3 separate regions of the Homo sapiens genome follow, and all the other regions are linked to region 2. The links are contacts of gene promoters, found by promoter capture Hi-C in human tissues and cell types (Jung and others, 2019). All regions are on one chromosome and are shown on one strand. Each heading gives the region's core, a stretch centred on a gene start or on the middle of the fragment in contact. The rest is flanking DNA. Distances are from core to core; before and after follow the strand shown. Region 1 overlaps MXD1 (MAX dimerization protein 1). Region 2 holds the start of TIA1 (TIA1 cytotoxic granule associated RNA binding protein). Region 3 overlaps GMCL1 (germ cell-less 1, spermatogenesis associated).

Region 1 (3,691 bases), core at 193-2,692, 310 kb after region 2:
TGGGCCAGAAGCACCCCAGGCAGAATGAGTTCTCAAAGAGTGTGAAGTTGCCCAGGCCTTGCGATGGCAAATGCTACCAATGACCTTTTGCTGAATAAACATATTTTGAACCAGACAACTCTGGTGAAAACCAATGAGAAGCAAAATCCAAGGTTTTCGAAGCTAAGTCTATTGATAATACAAGTGCTGGGGTAGGGAATAATATCTGCTATTATATAGTCATTCACATGTGTAAATACTATATACAGTAATGGTCCCTGACTCATGATGGTTCAACTTACAATTTTTTAAATTTATAATGAGTTTATTGAAGTATTAAATGCATATTAGACTTGGGATGTTTTTTATTTATGATGGGCTTCTTGAGACATAACCCCATCATAAGTCAAGGAGCATATATATCTGTGGAGTTATTTGTTGAAGCTTTATTTGTAATAGCAAAGATTGAAACAACCCAAATGACCACCCAGGAGGGAACTGGTTAAATAAATTATGCTACATCCACACCGTGTAGTACTATGTAGCTATCAAAAAGAATGAGAATGTGCTTTATGTCCTATTAGGAAAGATTTTCCAGATATATTGTTAAGTGGAGAAAAGCAAGATTCCAAACTGTGAGTATACCATGCTATCTTAAAGATGGAGGAAAACAAGAATCTATATTCATGTTTTCTTGTATGTAGACAAACTCTGGAATGACACATAAGAAACTGGCTGGGCAGGGAGAAGGCAAGGAACAGTCAGACAGAGATAAGGAAGGAAGTGATGGGGGTTTTTACTGAGTCATTTTTTATACTTTTTGTTCTTGGAGTATGTCAGACTGATGCAATGGCACGGAGTGGGAGAGGGAGAAGGGCTGGATGAAGCAGCAGCCACGGCAACTGACTGAAGAGAGAGCACGAGAGTTGCTCCAACTGAGAAATTTACATTTCCTTGAAATGGTTTGTGCTTTATTCTAGAACCTGGAAAATTCTATGAATGTAAGAAGCAGCTGAGATTTGGGGGTTTTGCTTAAGCTTACCACCTCCTTAAAGCCTTCCCAAGCCATCCTAGCTCACAGTGATTCCTCTATTTTCTAAGCACCACTTAACTGTTTATATTATTCACTGGGAAGTTCACTGTACTGCCTGACTTGTTTCATATTTCTTACTTAACCATTCATTGCAGTCTCCTTAGAAAGTCAGGATTGCAGCTTAATCATTGCTGTGCTGTCACCGTGCCTCAAACACACACATGCTTAATAAGTGTTTGCTGAATGGATTATGTCATCTATTCAACTAGACTTTAAGCTTCTAGAGGACAGAGTCCATCTCTACTGCATCTTTGCACCTTCAGCAGTGCTCAGAGTCTTCAGGTTTTAGATAACATTCATTGCCCACACACAACCTACTTGGAGCAGAGTTCCCTGGGGTCTAGGAGGCTCCCCTCCAGCTGAATTGGGAAACAATGCAATGCCTTATAGGTTTGCCCTTTTTCCTCTTAAGAATTGTACTGTAATAGCAAAAGTTGAAAATATAGACCAAAGAAAGGAAATGGCTTCAGAAAGCTATAGGACAGGTGAATATGCATGATATTAATGTAAGAAGTCAATTCACACTCTCCAGGGAGACTTCAGGATGTTCCCCTAAGGCAGGGCTAGTAAGCAAGGCATTAGACTTCCTTCCTTCTGAGCCTCCTGCCTCTTCTAGGTCATGAGGAAGTTGTCCTAAACTCTCCAAGGGTGCTCTAAGGCTTGGCAAGCTTGGGGAGTACAGCATTCATTTCTGAGCTAGGAAGAGGTAATAGCACAAGGGCTTTACTATTTTGTAAGTCTTTCACTTCTTCTGAAAAACCTGTCCATGTGGCAGAGTCAGAGCAAAGACTCATGTTACAGGTGTGCTCCTCCCACTACTGCATGTGGTGGGGACCAGGGAAGGGAAGAAAACTTGTATGTAAAATATACTTGTTCATCTTGGATAATATTCTTCAAAAAGAGCCATGAAAATAGATCATGTTATTAGAAACACTATGAGAAAGTATAATTTATACATTTATAAATTTGTCTATTTCTTGCCATAAAACTTATAGACTAATTTTCTTTTTTTGTTTTTTTTTTTTTTTTTTTTTTTTGAGACAGAGTTCTTGCTCTTGTCGCCCAGGCTGGAGTACAGTGCCGTGATCTCAGCTCATGGCAACCTCTGCCTCCCAGGCTCAACAGATTCTCCTTCTTCAGCCTCCTGAGTATCTGGGATTACAGGCGCCCGCCACCACGTCCGGCTAATTTTTGTATTTTTAGCAGAGATGGGGTTTCACCATGTTGGCCAGGCTGGTCTCGAACTCCTGACCTCAAGCAATCTGCCTGCCTCAGCCTCCCAAAGTGCTGGGATTACAGGTATGAGCTAATTTTCCAATTAGAAGAAAAAGTTCAAAAATTAAAATTATATTTAGATATTTTTCAGCCAGCTTGTTATTTGCAAAGACTGCATGATTCAGAACAGTGTCATTTTAGTACTTTTATGATGTTGGTTTATATGCAGATATGAGTGTGTGAATTTTTTTAGGAAGTTTGTCCACTGATAAAAATATAATAAAGTCATCTTTTGATGCATTGTCATTTCTAGCCTTATAGGAGTCTTGCCCAGAAAGTGCAATTTTCACTACCCAAATGTGGGTTTCCAAAGAACACTCCTAGTCGTGAAACTAGAAATAAGCCATTTGACTAATTCCAGCTGAGACTAATACTTGTTCATTCAGTGTTTTCTGGCCTAGTTCTACAAAAATAGGACCAGAATTCTTTCTGGATTTTTGCAGAGACCCAAAGCCAACTCTGTCTTTGGCAGTGTCTGCCTTGGCCTTCTCCGGCGCCTCACTGCTGCAGCCTGATGGCTGCCCCCTGCCCACATGCCACTGCCTGCAGACATCCCCACACTGGTGCCCGGGCCAACCACAGGAGAGCAATGAAATATATTAAGTAGACTCAGTTCTATCATACAGTAGTGAAATCCAATCCCTGAACCAGATAAAAAAGCAAACAGACCCCTCTGTTATGTACAGCTCCTACCAAAGCTCTCCAACCCTGACACACACACACATACACAGACACACATACAGACACACAAACTCCTGGGATCTAGAATCCCTCTGCCAGCCCTGAGTACCCACGGAGCTCCCAGATCCAAAACAAGCAGAACAAACACCCGTCTCAGCTCTCTTTTCTCAGTTCTGACTACTCCTGTGCCCTGCTGTCCCATTTTAAACCAGGTCAAACTCCCATTTGGGGAACTAGCAGGGGTTTTGCCATATATCCTCAACAGGAAGCCACCCGACACCTCAGTGTGACCCAGGAAGTTGACTCTCCTCCCATCACATCTTCTTCAGTCTTCCCTCTGTTGCCAAGAGCTACCTCCCATCTTCCTGGCACCCGGCTGCCTCTTCCTTTAGCACTGATCCACACTGCTTTGTACCTAGGCCATGGACTAACAAACTTCACCTTCTGACTCTTCAGAAACATAACTTTAATTATTCTGAATAAGCTGATATACCTTTGGTCTACAGTGGCATAAAGAAACCAATCTTTGAACTATAATAAGTCATGCTCTGAATCAAGTATGGCCCATAACTAGTAATAACAAATTTAGATACAACTATAGATTCTATTCAGTAAGTTTTAAGTATCCCAAATTTTGTTGATTTTTAATTTTTTTAAAAAATT
Region 2 (4,187 bases), core at 798-3,297:
TGATCTGCCTGCCTCGGTCTCCCAAAGACTGGGATTACAGGCGTGAGCCGCCCCGCTCAGCCGACATCACGTTTTTCGATGTGTAAATTCTCCTATGTTTAAAAAATATTTCTACAACTTAAATAAACTTACATCATAGATATTTTCCAGTTCAACACTACAGATCTGATTAATAGCTTTTCAATAACTGCAAAATAGTCCATAAAATGAATGTTCCATCTGGGGGCAGCGGCTCACGTCTGTTATCTCAGCACTTTGGGAGGCTAAGGCAGGCAGATCACCTGAGGTCAGGAGTTCAAGACCAGCCTGGCCAACATGGCAAAACCCTGTCTCTACTAAAATACAAAAATTAGTTAGGCTAATTTAGGTGGTGGCGCACGTCTGTAATCCCAGCTACTAGGGAGGCTGAGGCAGGAGAATCGCTTGAACCTGGGAGGCAGAGGTTGCAGTGAGCCAAGATTGTGTCACTGCACTCCAGCCTGGGAGATAGAGCGAGACTGTCTCAAAAAAAAAAAAGAAAGAAAGAAAAAGAAAAAGTTCCACATGTATTTGGTGTAAATTGAATAAATTACCATAAGTGGCATTGATGGATATTCAGGTTACTCCATTTTTTTCTACTGTAAACAATGCTGCAGTTGTATCTTGGCACATAAATCTTTATAAATTAATTGTTTTATTTCTGTAGGATAGATTCCTAGACATAGGATTACTTTAGTGACATATATATATAATAAGCAATGTGAAATGCATACAGAGTATACTGAATCACATTTCAGAGCTCTAATTTCTCTGCCTCCTAAAGTTGGACTGAAGTTTATGTATCTTTTGACTTGTTTACTTTTAAGATTCTTGTGACCAATTTGCATTAAATAGCTGGGGTTTTTTGTTTGTTTCTTTGTTTGTTTTTTGAGACGGATCCTCGTTCTGTTGCCCAGGCTGGAGTGCAATGGCAAGATCTCGGCTCACTGCAATCTCCACCTCCCAGATTCAAGGATTCTCCTGCCTCAGCCTCCTGAGTAGTTGGGATTACGGGCCCCCACCACCACATCCAGCTAATTTTTGTATTTTTAGTAGAGACAGGGTTTCGCCATGTTGGTCAGGCTGGTCTCGAACTCCTGATCTCAGGTGATCCGCCCGCCTCAGCCATCCAAAGTGCTGGAATAACAGGCGTGAGCCACTGCCCCCGGCCTAAACAGCTATTTCTTAAATGCTTTTCAATGTGCAATCAATACACGGAAGAAATGCAAATATAAATAAAAATCTGGCATCTGGAAATATCCTCCCCGCGCTGAAAAATCTGGCTAGCACCAACGACGCAAATTCTTAATAAAATCCTTACTTTTTTAAGTAAAACTTTTTTTCTTTTTTCTTATTTCTTAAGTAAACATTTTAAATTGAAATTTTTTTTCTGTACAGAGAAAGTTGAAACATCCATTCCTATGTTTGGGATGAGAAAAGATAAATTATTTATGTTATTGGAAAACAGAAGATTACAGACTGTCAATAAACTTTTACTTTTAAATGAATAAATAATACATGACAATTCTTTTCACATGAGAGAACGTCTGCTTCTATTTCCTCCTAAAATACTGTGGCGGCTGGGCATGTCAACAGCGCCGCTGGTGTAGTGGTATCATGCAAGATTCCCATTCTTGCGACCCGGGTTCGATTCCCGGGCGGCGCATAGGCGTTTTGCTTCTCGCTCGCTAAAAACCAGATAGCTTGAAGAGTCTTTATATATCTTTCCAAAAGAGGAAAGATTTAGGCTTTTTACTGTCCCTGAAGGTTTCCACTCCCTCATAATTCGCGGTCGAAACACTCGAATCCGCAGCCAGAAGACAAAAAAGTTCACGCAAATCGTGAAGTAGTTAATACTTGCGCCTGCGCAGTCTGAGGCGTCCCTCGCGTCGGGTGGAAGAGCGGCTGCGCAACAAGTGAACCTATGGATTAAGGTGTAGCCGGGCGGCCCGGAGGTTGAGAGTGCAAGATTATTCTGCGCCTGCGCGGCCCGGGTAACTTTGCTGGCTGCTCCTAGGCTCCCGGCTCGCCGCCATCTTGTATTGGGGTTTCATTGTTCCCGCTGGGCCGGGCGGTTTAGTGTAATTGCCGCCGGAGGAGGAGGCGGAGTAACCTCTGGTCAGCCGAGAAACCCCACTATCCTGTAGCCATAACCGCTTAAACGATTTGGGAGGTAGTGAAGGGCAGGGAGCTGGACCTGGAGGCGCCGCCGCGACAGCAGCAGCCATGGAGGACGAGATGCCCAAGACTCTGTGAGTCTGGGGCAGCGATGAGGGAGGCGGGATGGTGGTCGTCCCGGAGGGAAGGCCTCGGCCCTGCGCCGCTCCCAGCCTATTGTTCTCCGTGGACACCGCGATATCGTGGTTTTTGTTTCCTTAGCATGCACCTGGATGCTTACAACCAAGACCCAATCTGTGAGGACGAGGTGAAGGGAGACGGGGCTCAACCCTCTCAATTAATCCCTTCACTTTAGCAACACCATTGCATGACCTTTGCTCTCGCCACGGGCCCTCTGTGGTCTTAGACCTGGAGAAAAGACTTTAATTCAGACCTCTTTTTAGAACTCGTCGAACCTTCCTTTTGTCCTATGCTTTCTTTCCTTTTCCCGCTTCTCCCCCTTTTTGATTAACCTCTTCTTATCTTTACAGCCGTCTCCCTTTAATTTTACTTTTGATTTCCTACTGAAATTCTTCCTTTCATTTTCTTCTCGGTGATAAGATTTTTTTTCCTCCTCGAGGGTGCTTGTACTCATTTTCAGTGCAGTAAACTTTATTCTTGCAGTTGCCAATTGGAAAAAAGCCAAGCATTTTTCTTTAACCTCTGGCTTTCCTTCTGTAGCACCCACCGACCAAAAAGCCTAACCAGACACCCCAAGGATTTGGAAATCTCACCCAGAAGGAATATATCAATTGAGGGGAAATGGATTTAATATTATTTTTATAGTCGTTTACTACTGTTGTGATTGACATGGTGTTGAACGAGCGGGCTGTAAATGCCCTAACATATTTACAGAGAATTTTTAGAGATAGCGTTAAATTACCGGAGCGTGGATATTTTCTTTGTCGTGTGGCTTCCCCAACTGCGTTCTTTGTTTTTCGAGGTATTATCGGATGAGTTGATCCTGCCTTTGTTGGCATTTCTCGGAAGAAGAAAAGCTCAATGAGTTCTTGACATAGCTTTTTGTTTTTCTTGGATGACATAGCTTTTTGTTTATATTCTTGGAATACTGGCAGTTTGAGAGCTCCATGCATTAAAAATGCAATTTTAGGTTTCTCTTTGCAGCTCTCTAATAAAGTTGCTCTGAAGTACGATGTAATTGTTTTTTTACCTCCAAAATTTTTCCACTTTTAAGTTGCTATTTCTTGTCTATATTGGAAATGTGGTTACACTTGTTTTCTTAATAGATTGTCAGTTAATCTGTTAGTAACCTTGAAATTTCTTTTCTCTATTCCTGAGGCTCAGAAAGTATCTTTTCAGTAGGACGTAGCAATTAGTGCATGACCTTTGTTTTAGGAAAGATTGTATCTGTAGATGAATACTCCCTAAAAAACTACTAGCCTCACGGTGTTGGTGGAATCTCTTCCCTCTTGCCTCTTAGCTATGACAGTCATCAGCATTTTGGGTTAAGGCACTGCTCGTGTTTTATAATGTAAACTTAATATTCTCAGTATTAGTTTGAAAATGTTTAATTTTAGAAACTGCAGAAGTATCTGACCACTTAACTTTTTAACTTTTTAATTTTGTTTTTACTTTTTAATTTTTTGAGATGGAGTCTCACTTTGTCACCCAGGCTGCAAGGCTAGAGTGCAGTGATGCGATTTCGGCTCACTGCAACCTCCACCTCCTGGGTTTAAATGATTCTCCTGCCTCACCCTCCCAAGTAGCTGGCACTACATGCGGGCACCACCATGCCCGGCTAATTTTTGTATTTTTAGTAGAGATGGGGTTTCACCATGTCGGCCAAGCTGGTCTCGAACTCCTGACCTCAGGTGATCCGCACACCTCGGCCTCCCAGAGTGCTGGGATTACAGGTGTGAGCCACTGCGCCTGGCCTGTCCTCAACTTTTAACTATTACATTTATTACTTATTTTGCCTTGTATCCCTCACTAATACACCCCATCCAAGAAACTCTTCCTCAAAGTAGTCATACTGTAAAAGTCTTCTCTTG
Region 3 (3,884 bases), core at 1,375-3,874, 370 kb after region 2:
AACTAGAAAGAAAAAATTTTGGTTTCAATTAAGGGGGATTTTTTGGTCCATTTTATGTAAGAGCTTACTCTTTTTCCAAATGGGCATTTATTATTTGCACAGATACATAAAAATGATTCCCATTTTAAAAACCATAATAAAAATATACATTAACCACAGAAGTACTTACTCTAACTGGAAAGAAAATGAACATGGCTATTTTCAAAACAGTAATAAACACAAAAGGTCAACATACATAAATCATGACAAGTGTACATCTCATTTTTGACAAAAATAAGTTCCATTTTTACATTAATGCTTCATCATCAGGCTCCATATTACATCCTCTGACCTTATTTACATTTACTATGAAATTTCTATTAGCATGTGTCACTCAAAGGCACTCAATTCAGAGGGTAAAAAGTCCTGAGCTTAAGTAGGAAACAAAGTTCCCAACTAAAATTTGAACATAAATAATTCTAAAGATCAGAGAATATTAAAATGTTTAAAACTATAATATCTGGTACATAAATAATTCAAAACCTAATAATAAAGGTGTACAGACTGTCAAAGAAAAGACCATGTAAGGCAAGAAATATCCTTGGAATCAAACTGATTTTTCCCTCATTCAAGATCATTTGAAGGTGCAAAGCTAACTTTCACTGTTCTTAAACTCCTAGGAAAGTCAAATTAAAAAAAATAGCAATGACAATGCTTAAGTTTTAAAAAAAGTTTATCAGCTTAGTCTCCAAAACCAGGAAGAAAATATTTAATGATTAAAAACAAGTATGACCTGGAAAGATATTAGACTAAAAGGAGGAATCACAATGAGCAGGTGAAAATGTTAAAGGAAAGCTTTCAATACACCAACTGAAAAAGGCATTTCTAATTGGCCAACCAAATTATTCTTTTAGATTATTTTAGCCAAATAAAAAGAAATTTACAGATGGATAACTGAGGTCCACTAACATAAGGTAGAAACAAAGTTTAAGCTAAAAATTAAATCTATATTTTGTTGCAGATAAATGTGAGATTTACCTACAGCAATTTTCTATTGATGCTAAATTAAAAGCATGAATTGACATCGTTCTAACAGAAATGGTTTGACAGATATTTTCTTGGCTTTAAAATGTTCTTACGCATATGCATAGAAATGCAATGAGGATAAGAATAATCTTCTGTATTGTCTGTACAGTTCATAAGGCCTTTGTCATTGTTAGTCACCTTCGATGTGAATATCAGTAGGGCCATTAAATTAAAGCTGGCCTAAAAAGTTTTCAAAGTGCTACTGTTTCCAACTGATGAAATCTTCAGTTTTCTGGATTTTCTGGGTGACGATTATTTTCAATTCTTTTTTTCTGGTGATATATACAAGAAGTTACAGCAGATATATAAAGGGAAGATCAGAAGCCTGCTGTCCAAGTTCATCACCACTTGTTCCTATAAGACAGATTTGTAGATTCAATGACAATTAGATAAAATAAAAACAAAAAACCAAACTGTTGAACTGAGTGAACCAAAGGAGATAGTGTCCTGAGTCTGAGATCCACAACTCCACTCTCCAAACTCCCACCCATTAGCTGTGTGACCTTGTCAAATGCAGCTTCCTCACTGTAAGATGGGGACAGTAAGAGTACCTGACTTAAAGGAGGATTACAAGAGATAATACACAGGGGGTTTTGCAAAGCCAGCTATCTATTAAGTACTCAATAATGGTAGTTATTTTCATTATTGCAAAAATTTCTATCAAATACTTACATATTTTGTCAACAGATACAATGTCTAGAAATACATAAACTTCTCACTGGGCTTCAATTTTTAAAAAAATTTATTTCCTTTTACAAAATTAATTAATTATTTTTAAAAATGAGATAGGGTCTTTCTATATTGCCCAAGCTGGCCTTGAACTCCTGGGCTCAAGAGATCTTCCTGCCTCATCCTCCCGCCTCAGCCTCCTGAGTAGCTGGGACTACAGGCAGGTGCCACTGTGCCTGGCTACTTGGCTTCAATTACTGATGGCCGTTGGGTACAGCAAATCACCCAGATGAAGGTCGGGAGTCATTATCATCATCAAAAAGCAGGGTTCCTACTATTGACATTTCCCACTGTCCCTATGACAAACATGTAATTTGTCTCCTGAAACATAAAATACATTATCATGGAAAAGCAATTTCAGGTTCAGTTACATCAACACACACAAGAATGCTCAGAACTCCCAGAGACAGGAGCTGACACTACACAAATATAACATCCCTGATGCTACAGATCTCTGTTTGGAACCTCATATATCCTTTACTAGAAGCATTTGGTAAATAGAATCAATCCTCAGAGTAAAAGAAGAAACACTAAAATGAGAATTCCTACGTTTTAAATGCCTGGGATATGCTCTCTGCAATAGTATGCATTAGTTACACTTTATTTATTTTGGATAAGATACTATTAAACACTGTTTAAATCCAAAGTTTTAATTTTTTACTGAGACATGTATTCCTGCATGAAGAGGAACTAAAACTAGAATATCTGTGTGACTGAAGCAGACTCACTAGACACAGCTTCTGTGTTGAGGGAACAAGAAGATAAATTTGAATAAAGAAGGTAGAGAGTACAAATGTCTCACACACACACACACACACACACACACAAACACACAATCTCTCTCTCTGTACGAGGGAAAGTGGTATTATAAAAAGACATCAGTGAACAAAATCAGGGGAGGCCATCACCTAGACTGTGCTAACAAGTGTCACCAGAGAGGAATTATGCCAAAGCATGGTTGGTCTTCAGATGCTTGAGACATCCTGAACTAGTCAAAATTTATATCAATAATCTGGGTGAAGGCACATTTACCAAATTTGTTGAGGACAAATGTTTTGATGATATGTATATCTGATGATAAAAATCAAGATTCTGTTCCATAACTAAAAGGCTCTGAGGAAGATTAGCCTTCTAGTATTTGAATACAGTTAAGATTGAGGCAGGGAAGGGTAGGTCAAAGGGCCAACTCTGGAGAAAGAAGGAAGGCACGTGGATATCACTTGGCTGAATGGATACACCAATTTTTGAATATTAAATTGTATTAATCCCCACTCTCCATTCCCAAACAGGATAGGTCGATCCGAGCTTCATCAAATCTGTTGTTTCACCTAAAGGTTCAATCTGCATCTACATTTGCATTGAAGTACCTTTATAGCAAAGTTCTATTTTCCTTATTCCATTGTGGATGGAATCTGTGGAGCCCACATATAGCAGCAGCAGAGCAGCAGCAACTTCCTAGGTCCCCATTTCTACTTCCAGACAATTAAATAAATTTCTGGGTATTTGTTGTTGTTGGTAGTGTTTTTTGTCTGTCTGTTTTTGTTTTGAGACAGGGTCTGACTCTGTCACCCAGGCTGGAGTGCGGTGGCATGATCATGGCTCATTGCAGCCTCAGCCTCCCAGGCTCAAGTGATCTTCCTGCCTCAGCTTCCAAGTAGGTGGTACCACAGGCACATGCCACCACGCCCGGCTAATTTTTCAATTTTTTGTATAGATAGGGTTTTGCTAAGTTGCCAGGGCTGGTCTTGAACTCCTGGTCTCAAGCAATCCTCTGGCCTTGGTCTCCCAAAGTGCTGGGATTACAGGCATGAGCTACCACGCCAAGCCTGCAATTTGGCTTTGATTCTCCATCCCAGCTTTTCAATGTCTCACCAGGTTACCTTTTTTGTCCATCTCTTAAATACCAGTGGTCCCTAGGGTTCTATCCTGTCATATTCTCTACACATTTCCTGTACATTATCTCATCCAATTATTATTTCTAGTTCAGGCATTACTTGTAAACTCCAAATCCATTATTCACCAGCCTATCAAATTTTCACCTTGATGCTCTCAAATTAAACATGCCCTAAACAGAATTCATCATCTCTTCA

The links. Contacts are between HindIII fragments. The study calls those that stand out against the background at their distance.
Region 1: a contact is called between a fragment that was not itself captured here and the fragment with the promoter of TIA1 in region 2, in 2 of the 25 tissues and cell types used here (dorsolateral prefrontal cortex and hippocampus).
Region 3: a contact is called between a fragment that was not itself captured here and the fragment with the promoter of TIA1 in region 2, in 1 of the 25 tissues and cell types used here (spleen).

What each region holds. Positions count from the first base shown.
Region 1 is chr2:69,931,619-69,935,309 of GRCh38, reverse strand. The region is part of intron 3 of MXD1 (MAX dimerization protein 1); the gene reads right to left. It also overlaps a transcript of ASPRV1 not described here. Among named protein-coding and RNA genes, the nearest start is that of MXD1, 18 kb to the right of the region's middle. The HindIII fragment of the contact is 4,255 bases long and covers 1-3,569 here.
Region 2 is chr2:70,246,488-70,250,674 of GRCh38, reverse strand. TIA1 (TIA1 cytotoxic granule associated RNA binding protein) reads left to right here and starts at 2,047. Exons shown (of 13, transcript NM_022173.4): 1 at 2,047-2,270. The coding sequence starts at 2,245. TRG-CCC2-1 (tRNA-Gly (anticodon CCC) 2-1) reads left to right here and starts at 1,614; the gene lies at 1,614-1,684. RefSeq lists enhancers at 1,651-2,465, 2,466-3,281. The HindIII fragment of the contact is 19,489 bases long and covers 1-4,187 here.
Region 3 is chr2:69,876,444-69,880,327 of GRCh38, reverse strand. GMCL1 (germ cell-less 1, spermatogenesis associated) reads right to left here. Exons shown (of 14, transcript NM_178439.5): 14 at 1-1,419. The coding sequence ends at 1,324. Among named protein-coding and RNA genes, the nearest start is that of SNRNP27, 16 kb to the left of the region's middle. The HindIII fragment of the contact is 5,483 bases long and covers 1-3,884 here.